3 separate regions of the Homo sapiens genome follow, and regions 1 and 2 are each linked to region 3. The links are contacts of gene promoters, found by promoter capture Hi-C in human tissues and cell types (Jung and others, 2019). All regions are on one chromosome and are shown on one strand. Each heading gives the region's core, a stretch centred on a gene start or on the middle of the fragment in contact. The rest is flanking DNA. Distances are from core to core; before and after follow the strand shown. Region 1 overlaps PLCXD3 (phosphatidylinositol specific phospholipase C X domain containing 3). Region 2 has its middle 90 kb from the start of PLCXD3. Region 3 holds the start of PLCXD3 (phosphatidylinositol specific phospholipase C X domain containing 3).

Region 1 (3,389 bases), core at 611-3,110, 88 kb after region 3:
TCACAACCTATTTTTTTTTTGAAATGGAGTTTTGCTCTTGTTGCCCAGGCTGGAGTGCAGTGGCACGATCTTGGCTCACCACAACCTCCGCCTCCCAGGTTCAAGCAATTCTCCTGCCCCAGCCTCCCGAGTAGCTGGGATTACAGGCATGCACCACCACACCCGGCTAATTTTGTATTTTTAGTAGAGACGGGGTTTATCCATGTTGAGGCTGGTCTCGAACTCCTGACCTCAGGTGATCTGCCCGCCTCGGCCTCTCAAAGTGCTGGGATTACAGGCGTGAGCCACCGCGCCCAGCCAGAAATTCACAACCTTTTATGTATATATTAGAAAAGAAAAATATATAAAGTAATAATATAATCATCTAACCCAAAAGTTAGAAAAATAAAAAGGAAATTAAACCCATATATTGGCTATTGTGAATAGTTGCTGGGGGCTGGGGGAAGGGGAATGGAGAGATGTTGGTCAAAGGGTAGAAAGTTTGAATTTTGCAAGACAAATAATTTCTGGAGATCTAATGTATAGCAGTGTGACTATAGTTAACATACTATATTGTATATTTGAAAAGTGCTTGAAGAGTTGGTCTTAAGTATTCTCACAAAACACATACAAAAGAAAGATAATGGTAACTATGTGAGGTGATGGGTATTTTAATTAGTTTGTGATTATTTCACAATGTATCAAAACATCAAGTTGTACACCTTAAATATATACAGTTTTTATTTTTCAAATATATCTCAACAAAGGTAGGGAAAGATCAAAACTCAATAAAGGAGAAAAAAAATGATGAGAGCAAAAATGGATCCAGGCTGGTCTCGAACTCCTGACCTCAGGTGATCCGTCCGCCTCGGCCTCCCAAAGTGCTGGGATTACAGGCGTGATCCACCACGCCCGGCCAGAAATTCACAACCTTTTATGTATATATTAGAAAAGAAAAATATATAAAGTAATAATATAATCATCTGATACAAATCAAATCAGAAAATATGGAGTCAACAAAATTAAAATCTATTTCTTCTAATAAAATAGACTAATCTGTGGAAAAATTGATGAAAAAAGGAGAATATAAAAATAATCATTCTAGAAATGAAGGCCATAACTATTGATGCAGCAGAATTTTATGAGAATTCCATGAACTACTTTGTGCCAATATACTTGAAAAACTTAATATTTTTAAAAAATAGAACTTAACTGAAAATGACTCAACTAGAAGCAGAAAATTCAAAAGCCTTATAATAATTAAGCATAAAAAAACTTTATTCTAACCACAAAACACAGCATTTAGACCAAAGTATATTTCCAGCATAATCTACCAAACCATCAAAGAACATATAACCCATTTTTCATATAAACTGTTCTGGGAGAAGATAAAAATAAAATAATAAATCAAAGTCAGATAGGGCTTCTGCGAAGAATGCAAGAATAGTTTAAAATTAGAATATCTATTAATGTTACCATATTAACAGATAAAAAAAGAAAAAATAATTTGATCACCTCACAAATATAGAAAAGGCATTTGATAATATTCAACACCCATTCATAATTTTTTTTAAAAAATTAATACTTTTTAGAAAATTAAGAATAGAAGAGAGATTCCTTAAGCTGATAAAGTATATCTATCAACTACCTAACCTAGTATTCTATTTCACAATGAAAAGGACTCTCTAAATTCACAAAGAAGGCAAAGATGCCTGTTTTTATTACTGCTATTTAGCACTGGGTTGGAGGACCAGCTAGTACAGTATCAAAAAAAGCAAAAGAAAAACACACATACTGGAAAAAAATGCCACTTTTATAGCAAACGAAGTAAAAGATACCTGGAAATAAATCTGACAAAAGGAGCATAGGAACTTTTTAGATAAATGTGTAAAACTTTATTGAAGACTCTTTAAAAGAAGATCTGAGGAAATGAAGAGAAATATAATGTTGGAAGGTGGGAGGAGTCAATATCATAAAGATGACAATTGTCTCGCAATTTTTCTATCAATTAATGCAATCCTAACAAATTTTTCAATTTTTTAATATATCTGATTAATATAGTCTAAAATTCAAATGAAAGAATGAAACTCCAAGATTGGCCAAGGCAATTTGGACTAAGGTAGTAAAAAGGAAGGATGAGACCCATCCTACCCAGATATGAAAAGATGGTGGTTGATAAATTTCCCAAGGCTACAGAGCCTTGTAAAAGTCAAAGGTAAGATTAAACCCTGGTTCATATTGCTGCCAAGTCCACATTCTTACCTCCACATTATGCTCCTCAAGGAGATTTCAGTCATGTTTTGAAGCCATTTCCAGGACTGATAAAACGGAGAAGGCGTATGTGAAAAAACAGTCAGGGATAAGGAAGTTATTTATAGGAAAGAGCAAGCTGATTAATTTGGCTGTAGGTGAGTAATAATTCAGAAATATGGAGTTCCAATAGCCCTTTACAATAATATATACTTTCTATTGTCTATAAAGACTAAGAATAAAGATAAAAATACAGTAAGTGTGTTTAAATTAATACATATGTAAGTAACTCTTAAAGGTAGGTTGATATCTTCCTATGCATTAGCAATATATATATATATATGGAAATACCTAGGTTGTTTATATTTCTGAGTGATATCGAGAATTATAGTAAATATATGAAGAAAAGCATGTTGTTACATAATGCTTGTTTTATTAACGGGTAACCAGGACTTGGAATCTCACTGCTTTGTCACCTAAAAAAAGTTTTTTAGCACACCTGAGTTGACTTATGTTTGAATATTCTTTCAAATCAGCTGAAATTAAAATGTGCGTATATTTAAGCTTTCCATTCATCTAAATTCTACCAAAGAGCTTTTTTGTTTGTTTGTTTGTTTTGTTTTGTTTTTTTGAGAAGGAGTCTCGCTCTTTCGCCCAGGCCTGACTGCAGTAGCGCAATCTCGGCTCACTGCAAGCTTCGCCTCTCGGGTTCACGCCATTCTCCTGCCTCAGCCTCCCGAGTAGCTGGGACTACAGGCCCCCGCCACCGCGCCCGGTTAATTTTTTGTATTTTTAGTAGAGACGGGGTTTCACCGTGTTAGCCAGGATGGTCTCAATATCCTGACCTTGTGATCAGCCCGCCTCGGCCTCCCAAAGTGCTGGGATTACAGGCGTGAGCCACCGCGCCCAGCTCCAAAGAGTATTTTTTAAGGATCTGCTAAACATCTAACGGAATAATACTCTATAGGCTATTATAAGAAATATAATTCATGGACCCTACCTACCCTCAAATTACTTATATATTAGAGCAATATGGTCCAGAAGACAATTAAAAAAGAATTAGGGATTGAATAATGTATAGTTGACAATAAATTTTATAAAACTGTTGCACAAACAGAAATATGACTCAGTGAGAATTTAATACACTCTGTTTTGATGTT
Region 2 (3,433 bases), core at 512-3,011, 90 kb before region 3:
ATTCTCCTGCCTCAGCCTCCCGAGTAGCTAGGACTACAGGCGCCCACCACCACGTCCTGCTAATTTTTTGTATTTTTAGTAGAGATAGGGTTTCACCATGTTAGCCAGGATGATCTCGATCTCCTGACCTCATGATCCGCCCGCCTCCCAAAGTGCTGGGATTACAGGCGTGAGCCACTGCGCCCGGCCGATCTATTTATATATTTTGTTTGCCTCATTCCCTCTCTCTCTTTCAATGTGTGTATGCATACATGCATGTACATATGTATGTATATGTATTTATATATACAGTTGTCCTTCCATATTCATGGATTCTGCATCCATGGATTTCATAAACCAAAGATTGAAAATATTTTTCTAAAAACAGTGCATCTGTGCTAAACATGTATGGACTTCTTTTCTTGCCATTATTCCCTAAAGAGTATAACAATGATTTAGACAGCATTTACAGTATTTTAGGTATTATAAATAATTTAGTGATTTAAAGTATACAAAAGAATGTGTGTAGGTTATATGCAAACACCACAGCATTTTGTAACAGGGACTTAAAGATTTCTAGATTTTAGTATCCACAAGAGGTCCTGGAGCCAATCCTCCACAGATGGTGAGGATGAACTGTGTATGTAAAATATGTGCGTTTTTATGTATATATATTACATTTTTTGGTGGTTCTGTTTGGATAATTTCTATTGACTTATCTGAGTTTACTGATCTTTTCTTCTGCTCTGTTATGTCTGCCATTGACCCTATTATATGAATTCTTCATAGGGTATATTATACTCTCAGTTCCAGAAATTTCCCTTTGTTTACTTCTTAATTTTTTTATTTCTCCGCTGAGATTCATTATCTTTTTTACTCATGGTATCTACCTTTTAATCTTATTTCTGCAACATATTTATAATAGGTATTTTTAAGTTCTTGTTTTCTAATTCTTGCACCTGGATTTTCTGTGAGTCTACTTCACTGAACAGTTTTTTTCTTCTGCTGGATGGTATATTCCTACTTTGGCTTATATGAAAATTATTTTGATATGTTAGATATTGTGTATAAAAAAGTAGAGATTGAAATAAATAGTATTTAGCTCCAGAAAGTGTACAATGTTTCATCTGTCAGGGGTTAGGAGCTGATTTCTTCTCATTATGAATTAACCTAGGTCAGGATTGGGCTGTATTTAATTTCAGTTCGCCACCAGTTACAAATGCCCTCAGAGCAGATTTAGGTTACTTCTTCCAGCAAGGCTTGAGTTTTAGGCACTTTGAGACTATACTTACTCAACTTTTCTGCCCAGCCTGCAGTATCCTGTACCATGGAATATAGCCAGTGGTGTGCTGGTAAATGCTTAATGAACTGTCCTAAAAAGAAAGTCTAATTTGCAGCATCTGCTGATGTCTGTAGTATGAATGCTGCCACCATGTGCAGTTTCAGTCTACTGACATGTTACTGAATGCAGACTCAGGAAGAGACATACATAATTGGTTCTCATGCACTGGTACGGGCTCCATCAATCACTGGATATTCCTTTTTGCTTAACAGCTCCTGCAAGCAGCCACACACTCAGTAAAGAAAGAAATCCGTTGGGGAAACAATGGGCAAGGTGAGCTAGTTCTGCCTGGGGCTTCTTCACTGTCTCATCTATAGCATATCCCACAGGGTTATTAAATTTTAGCTGGTTTCTTCAGGTTGGGGCAAATTCTCCTGGTGTGTGGTGGGCTTACTTCTCAGTGCCCTGTGACCCCAAGAAATGAAAGAACCTTCCAGACTGTGCTCACATAGGGATTGTCCCTCTCTGAGTTTTGGTCATTGAGGTGTCTGTGCATCTTTATCTCTCTGATGCATTTTTAAAAATATGATTTATAGTTTATTCAGTATTTTCTTAAATTTCTATATTATAGCCAGATTATTTCTTGTTGATGATGACAAACAATATGTCAGAAATTTTCAGCAAATTGGTCTAATGTTTTTCTGTTTATAGTAATTAAAGGAGGTTATATATGGTTTTGACATTCAATACAAAGTGAACATTTAATTTTTCATTCATTAATTCACTATTTATTCATTTTCCAATATATATTGATTAGACCTTGGATCTATATACTCATTATTAGTAAATGTGTAGAATTTAGTCACGAATTCTTTATTTCACAACTAAGCTTAAACATACCATGTAGTGAAACAAAATAACCTAACTGAAAGGTAGCATAGTAAGGCATTCTTGTTTAAAATAAATAAAGAAATAAAAATGTATACATGTACACAGTTTGAAGATAAAAATGGTTGTTTACCATACAAGGTCTTGTATGAAAAACAGTAGATGCCACTGTTACCCTGACTTCCTGCTGCTCAGAGACAATTAAACTTTCTTTTTTTTTTTTTTTATTATTATTATACTCTAAGTTTTAGGGTACATGTGCACATTGTGCAGGTTAGTTACATATGTATACATGTGCCATGCTGGTGCGCTGCACCCACTAATGTGTCATCTAGCATTAGGTATATCTCCCAATGCTATCCCTCCCCCCTCCCCCGACCCCACCACAGTCCCCAGAGTGTGATATTCCCCTTCCTGTGTCCATGTGATCTCATTGTTCAATTCCCACCTATGAGTGAGAACATGCGGTGTTTGGTTTTTTGTTCTTGCGATAGTTTACTGAGAATGATGGTTTCCAATTTCATCCATGTCCCTACAAAGGATATGAACTCATCATTTTTTATGGCTGCATAGTATTCCATGGTGTATATGTGCCACATTTTCTTAATCCAGTCTATCATTGTTGGACATTTGGGTTGGTTCCAAGTCTTTGCTATTGTGAATAGTGCCGCAATAAACATACGTGTGCATGTGTCTTTATAGCAGCATGATTTACAGTCATTTGGGTATATACCCAGTAATGGGATGGCTGGGTCAAATGGTATTTCTAGTTCTAGATCCCTGAGGAATCGCCACACTGACTTCCACAATGGTCGAACTAGTTTACAGTCCCACCAACAGTGTAAAAGTGTTCCTATTTCTCCGCATCCTCTCCAGCACCTGTTGTTTCTGATCATTATTTATTTATTGTAATTTCTCTAAAGAACATGCTTTATATTGGTACTTCTTGGTTTTCCACTTTTAGAATTTATCTATTATCTTCCCACTCGGAAGATTTTCTCTTTTCTATTGTTCTGTTTACTACATGTACTAATTTCTTGTGTTTTTCTGAGTAACCGTCTTTAAAAAAAATCCAGTCTCTTTGTCTTTTAAGGAGAGTTTAGTGTATTTATATTTACTATGATAACAAATATATTTGATTTATTTATATCATTTTATTTTGTTCTTTTATCGTTCTACATTTTCTGTTTCTCTGCCCTCCCTCATTTCTTGCATCTTTTTGGATTAGATATTTCGTTTTTCTCATGATGCTTTCCACCTCCTCTGCTAGTTTGAACATTATTA
Region 3 (3,751 bases), core at 611-3,110:
GTGGTAAATACACATATCCTGTTATCTTAAACATGTATGCACTCTCTTCTGGAAGCTTCACCACAAATCTCTGAGTTCTTATTACCACTTTATAATGGAGAAAACTGGGGCTAGCAGAGACTAGAGGACTTGCCCAAACTACTCAGAGACAGAGCAGCTGACCACTAGATTTGAATTTTCCTCATTGCCTTGCAATCATGCCCTGAGACCACCAGCATTAGGTGGTGTTTGTAGGTTTCTTACAGAAGGGTGGTGTTTGTAGATCTCTTGACCAAGAGTCCTATAGTAAGCTAAACTATCATCCTAATTAAAAGGATATGTGGGTTCTATTGTACTAGCATGTATATTAAGATTTATTTGGGGAAAATTTTCAGTATATCTCTTCCTCATCACTAAAGATAACTGTACCATGTCCTCTTGAAGGTATGAATTTATTTTACAAGGGGCATGGAAAATTTGATAACCAAAATAAGGCGTTGCCTCTCCTCTATCTTTCCCATAGTGCTCCCCATTTGGGGGTGAATATTCTTAGGACTTAGCATCATTGTAGAAAATAAGGTAGGCTCTAGGTTTTTTCTTATTTTTTAATGCTATTTGGGATTAAATGGATTTACTAACCTTGAATAATTATTCTCATGTTTCATGGCTCTCTTTGTCTCCTATGTTGATTGTCATTTCCGCAATCTAATAGCATTTCCCATAGAAAAATAAAAATTTACACAACCCTGGCATGAAAGAACAGAGGTCTGTTTATTGCATTTCCATTTCCTGGGTTGCAAAAGCCCAGCACACTTTCAGTTCATCTCTTATAATTCCTATTCAGGCCACTGCTGCTCTCATTACATTTGTAAAACTTCATCTCTCTCCTTTTACTCATCTGAGAGCAGGTGGACCCAGACAGTTCTTTGGAGGCCCAGTGAGTGATTTCTCTTGAGAGAGGCACATCTTTCCAGTCTGCAAAGGAATGAAAATGCAGACAGTCACATAGATCACTTTGAATGGTGCCAAATACATTCCACCAAATGCTACTGGCAATAATTAGAGCATGTCACTGGGAGATGTGGCGATTTTCTTCCAGCATAAGGCTCCAGTCTTACCCTGAGTGCCATGAAACTGACAGGACAGAGGCAGTGTTCTCCATGGAAATAATGTAGACTTCTCATGATCTGAGAAAAGAAGGGGGAGTAGCATTTCTTGACTTTGAAATGTCTGGAGCAAGGTACCCAGGATTAAGTAGGAACCACCTAGAATTTACCATGCCCTTCACTGACTCATACTTACCAGCTATTTCACAAAGTAGGCAAAAGAGTGAATAAAGATAATCATTTTTTAATAAACAGGGTTGTGGTCTCTGGCTGAGGAAAGGTATAACCTGTTGTAGATTACAAAAAGGAAAGCTCTTTGATAAGGACGGAAAGCCCTGAAACCCAGCATGAGAAGTCTGTTCCTCAGGAGGCAATAACATCCCAAAGTCTGCTAGGATTTTAGGTTCAAGTGCAAGACTGTCTTTCATACAAACAGGACGAGAAAGTCACAGCAAAGGATCGAGCAAGCCATGGGCAAAGCAGTTGGAAAAAAATGAATAGAAAAGAAAAATAAGAAACCAGGGAAAGCTGCAGAATGGCGAGGAAAGGCAGAGACGCCTAGGAAGGATAAGACGGGAGGAGGGGGTTGGGGAGGGAGGGGAGAGCGGAGAGAGCTGAGCACGGACGTCAGGAACAAAAGCTCCAGCGGAGTCTGGCGGAGGCACTAAGGGAGCACGGGGTGTTTTGAATAATTATTAAAATTAGCATGTGTCTGCGCCATCCTGTGGGTGTGGCGCAGAGAGGAGTGTAAACTCTAGCGGGGCTAGAGCAAACATTGGATTAGCGGCAGCAGCCTGCCAGCCTGCCCGAGGAGTGCTGGGACCAGCGCGCTGCACGCCGACTGGCACGATGGCCTCGTCTCAGGGGAAAAACGAGCTGAAATTAGCCGACTGGATGGCAACTCTGCCGGAGAGCATGCACAGCATCCCCCTCACCAATTTAGCCATTCCAGGTAGGCGCGCAGGGGCTGCGGGCTAGGCGCTCGGCGCCCGCTCCACCTGCCCCGCCCTGCTTTATCTGCCACTAAGTGGTAACTTGCCACGATGCCCGCGGGAGGGAAACTCGTCTTCCAGGGTGGGTCTCAGGCCAGGCGAGCGCGTGCCGGGTAGCCTTGGGCTTCCTGGCGTTTTCCAAACCCCTAAGGACCGAGGCGCTAGAGTCAAGGTGACTGCTTTTCTCCTGGGCTTTTGAAGCAGGTTGTATGCGGAGGACTGGGGCAGAGGAGAAGCTGGGCTCCAGGATGGTGCCTCGTGACCCCCTCCTATGGTTTCTCCTGCAGATTTGGGGAAGTGGGAGAAATCTCTGGGTCTGCGGGGTGACCGTGTGTGAAGAACGCGAGCTAGTGTCAGGGGCTCGCCTTCGGTGCAAGGACCTGAGTCTATCCCTGGCATGGAATTGGGCGGATTTGATAGATTCTCGGCTACAGTCATTAATATTCGTCCCCAATCTCCTTTAAAAAGACAAAGCGCTTCCCGAAGAGTGATGAAAGTTCAGGGACCAGAGGCGGCGTGATAGCTGCCCTTGAAAAGGAGCCCAAGGGGGCGACGGGCAGAGGGCACCATTTCGTATCGGTTTGGACCCCGGGGGACCTGGCCGAGTGGCCGCTGTCTCGAGTCTGGTCCAAGTGCGTGTTGGCAACACACTTCGCCCAGGTCAAAAAAGCAAACCCTTGCGGACCGTATGTTTACTGCTCGGGACAGAAGCTGGGCAGGGGAACCTGCGTGACCTGAGCGGAGGGGTGGGATTAATAGGCAAATAGTACGGAAAAGGTGACTGAGAATGTGTCCAGACAGTCTAGAAGGAAAGAAGCGTGGACAAAGCGAGGAAGAGACCTGAGGGATCAAGAAGCTTCAGCTTGATGTGTGCGACTTGGACCAGAGACTGGGCAGGTTTCTAGGGTGGCAGCTCCTAACAACCCCCTAGATCAGGTATCCAGGAGTGAGGGTCGTTTCAGGACAGTTTACAACAATGACAGCTGGGACACGGCCATACTTTATTGTCAATTTGGCTATGCAGTTGGGCTGGGGGAGCACACACTTGATCTTTTCAGAGCTGGGCTGGAGGGCAAATTACTCATGAACAGTTCACTTCTGGCCCTGAGCTGAGCTGGGCTATTAAACTCAACGTTATGGTCTACCTCCTCTTGATCTGCCCCATCCAGCGCCCCCTCTCAGCTGTTGGAGGAAAACATAATAAAGAAAAAAACAACAAAAACAAAAACAAAAGAAGGGTTATTTTGAAAATCACTAGATGCTCCAACCAAGAGTGCTGCCATTGATCAGTCCCTCAAATCAATGGTTGTTAGTCAAGTGGATGTTTGGCAGCAATGGCAGGCACAGGCTACTACAAGTGCTATCCACAGAAGGGGCTGTCTCCTTTCGTCCTTCTTCAACAGATAGCTTGCTACCGGCCAGGAATCTCCAAGGAAAAGAACCAACCCCAGCTTCTCCATGCAGCACTTATTCTGCTACCTAGGCAAGCCTGGAGATTGCTCTTTTCAAGGAGACAGTAGAAAGCACAACTTTGGCATAACTCCATTCTCACTTCCACAGGCATTCCCATTCCTTTTCTTCCTTCATTTTTATTTGGATTTTAGACAGCTTCTTTCACATGGTTTCCCCTGAATGTTTTTATATGCATAGAAGGTAAGAAGGGCAATCACTGTG

What was found. The method cuts DNA at HindIII sites, captures the fragments that hold promoters and counts their contacts. A contact is called where the count stands out against the background at its distance.
Region 1: a fragment that was not itself captured here is called in contact with the fragment with the promoter of PLCXD3 in region 3 in 2 of the 25 tissues and cell types used here (adrenal gland and neural progenitor cells).
Region 2: a contact is called between a fragment that was not itself captured here and the fragment with the promoter of PLCXD3 in region 3, in 5 of the 25 tissues and cell types used here (aorta, bladder, heart right ventricle and 2 more).

The regions. Positions count from the first base shown.
Region 1 is chr5:41,421,172-41,424,560 of GRCh38, reverse strand. The region is part of intron 1 of PLCXD3 (phosphatidylinositol specific phospholipase C X domain containing 3); the gene reads left to right. Among named protein-coding and RNA genes, the nearest start is that of PLCXD3, 88 kb to the left of the region's middle. The HindIII fragment of the contact is 4,490 bases long and covers 1-3,389 here.
Region 2 is chr5:41,598,950-41,602,382 of GRCh38, reverse strand. No RefSeq gene overlaps it. Among named protein-coding and RNA genes, the nearest start is that of PLCXD3, 90 kb to the right of the region's middle. The HindIII fragment of the contact is 7,979 bases long and covers 1-3,433 here.
Region 3 is chr5:41,508,710-41,512,460 of GRCh38, reverse strand. PLCXD3 (phosphatidylinositol specific phospholipase C X domain containing 3) reads left to right here and starts at 1,860. Exons shown (of 3, transcript NM_001005473.3): 1 at 1,860-2,037. The coding sequence starts at 1,935. RefSeq lists an enhancer at 1,506-2,334. The HindIII fragment of the contact is 4,804 bases long and covers 1-3,637 here.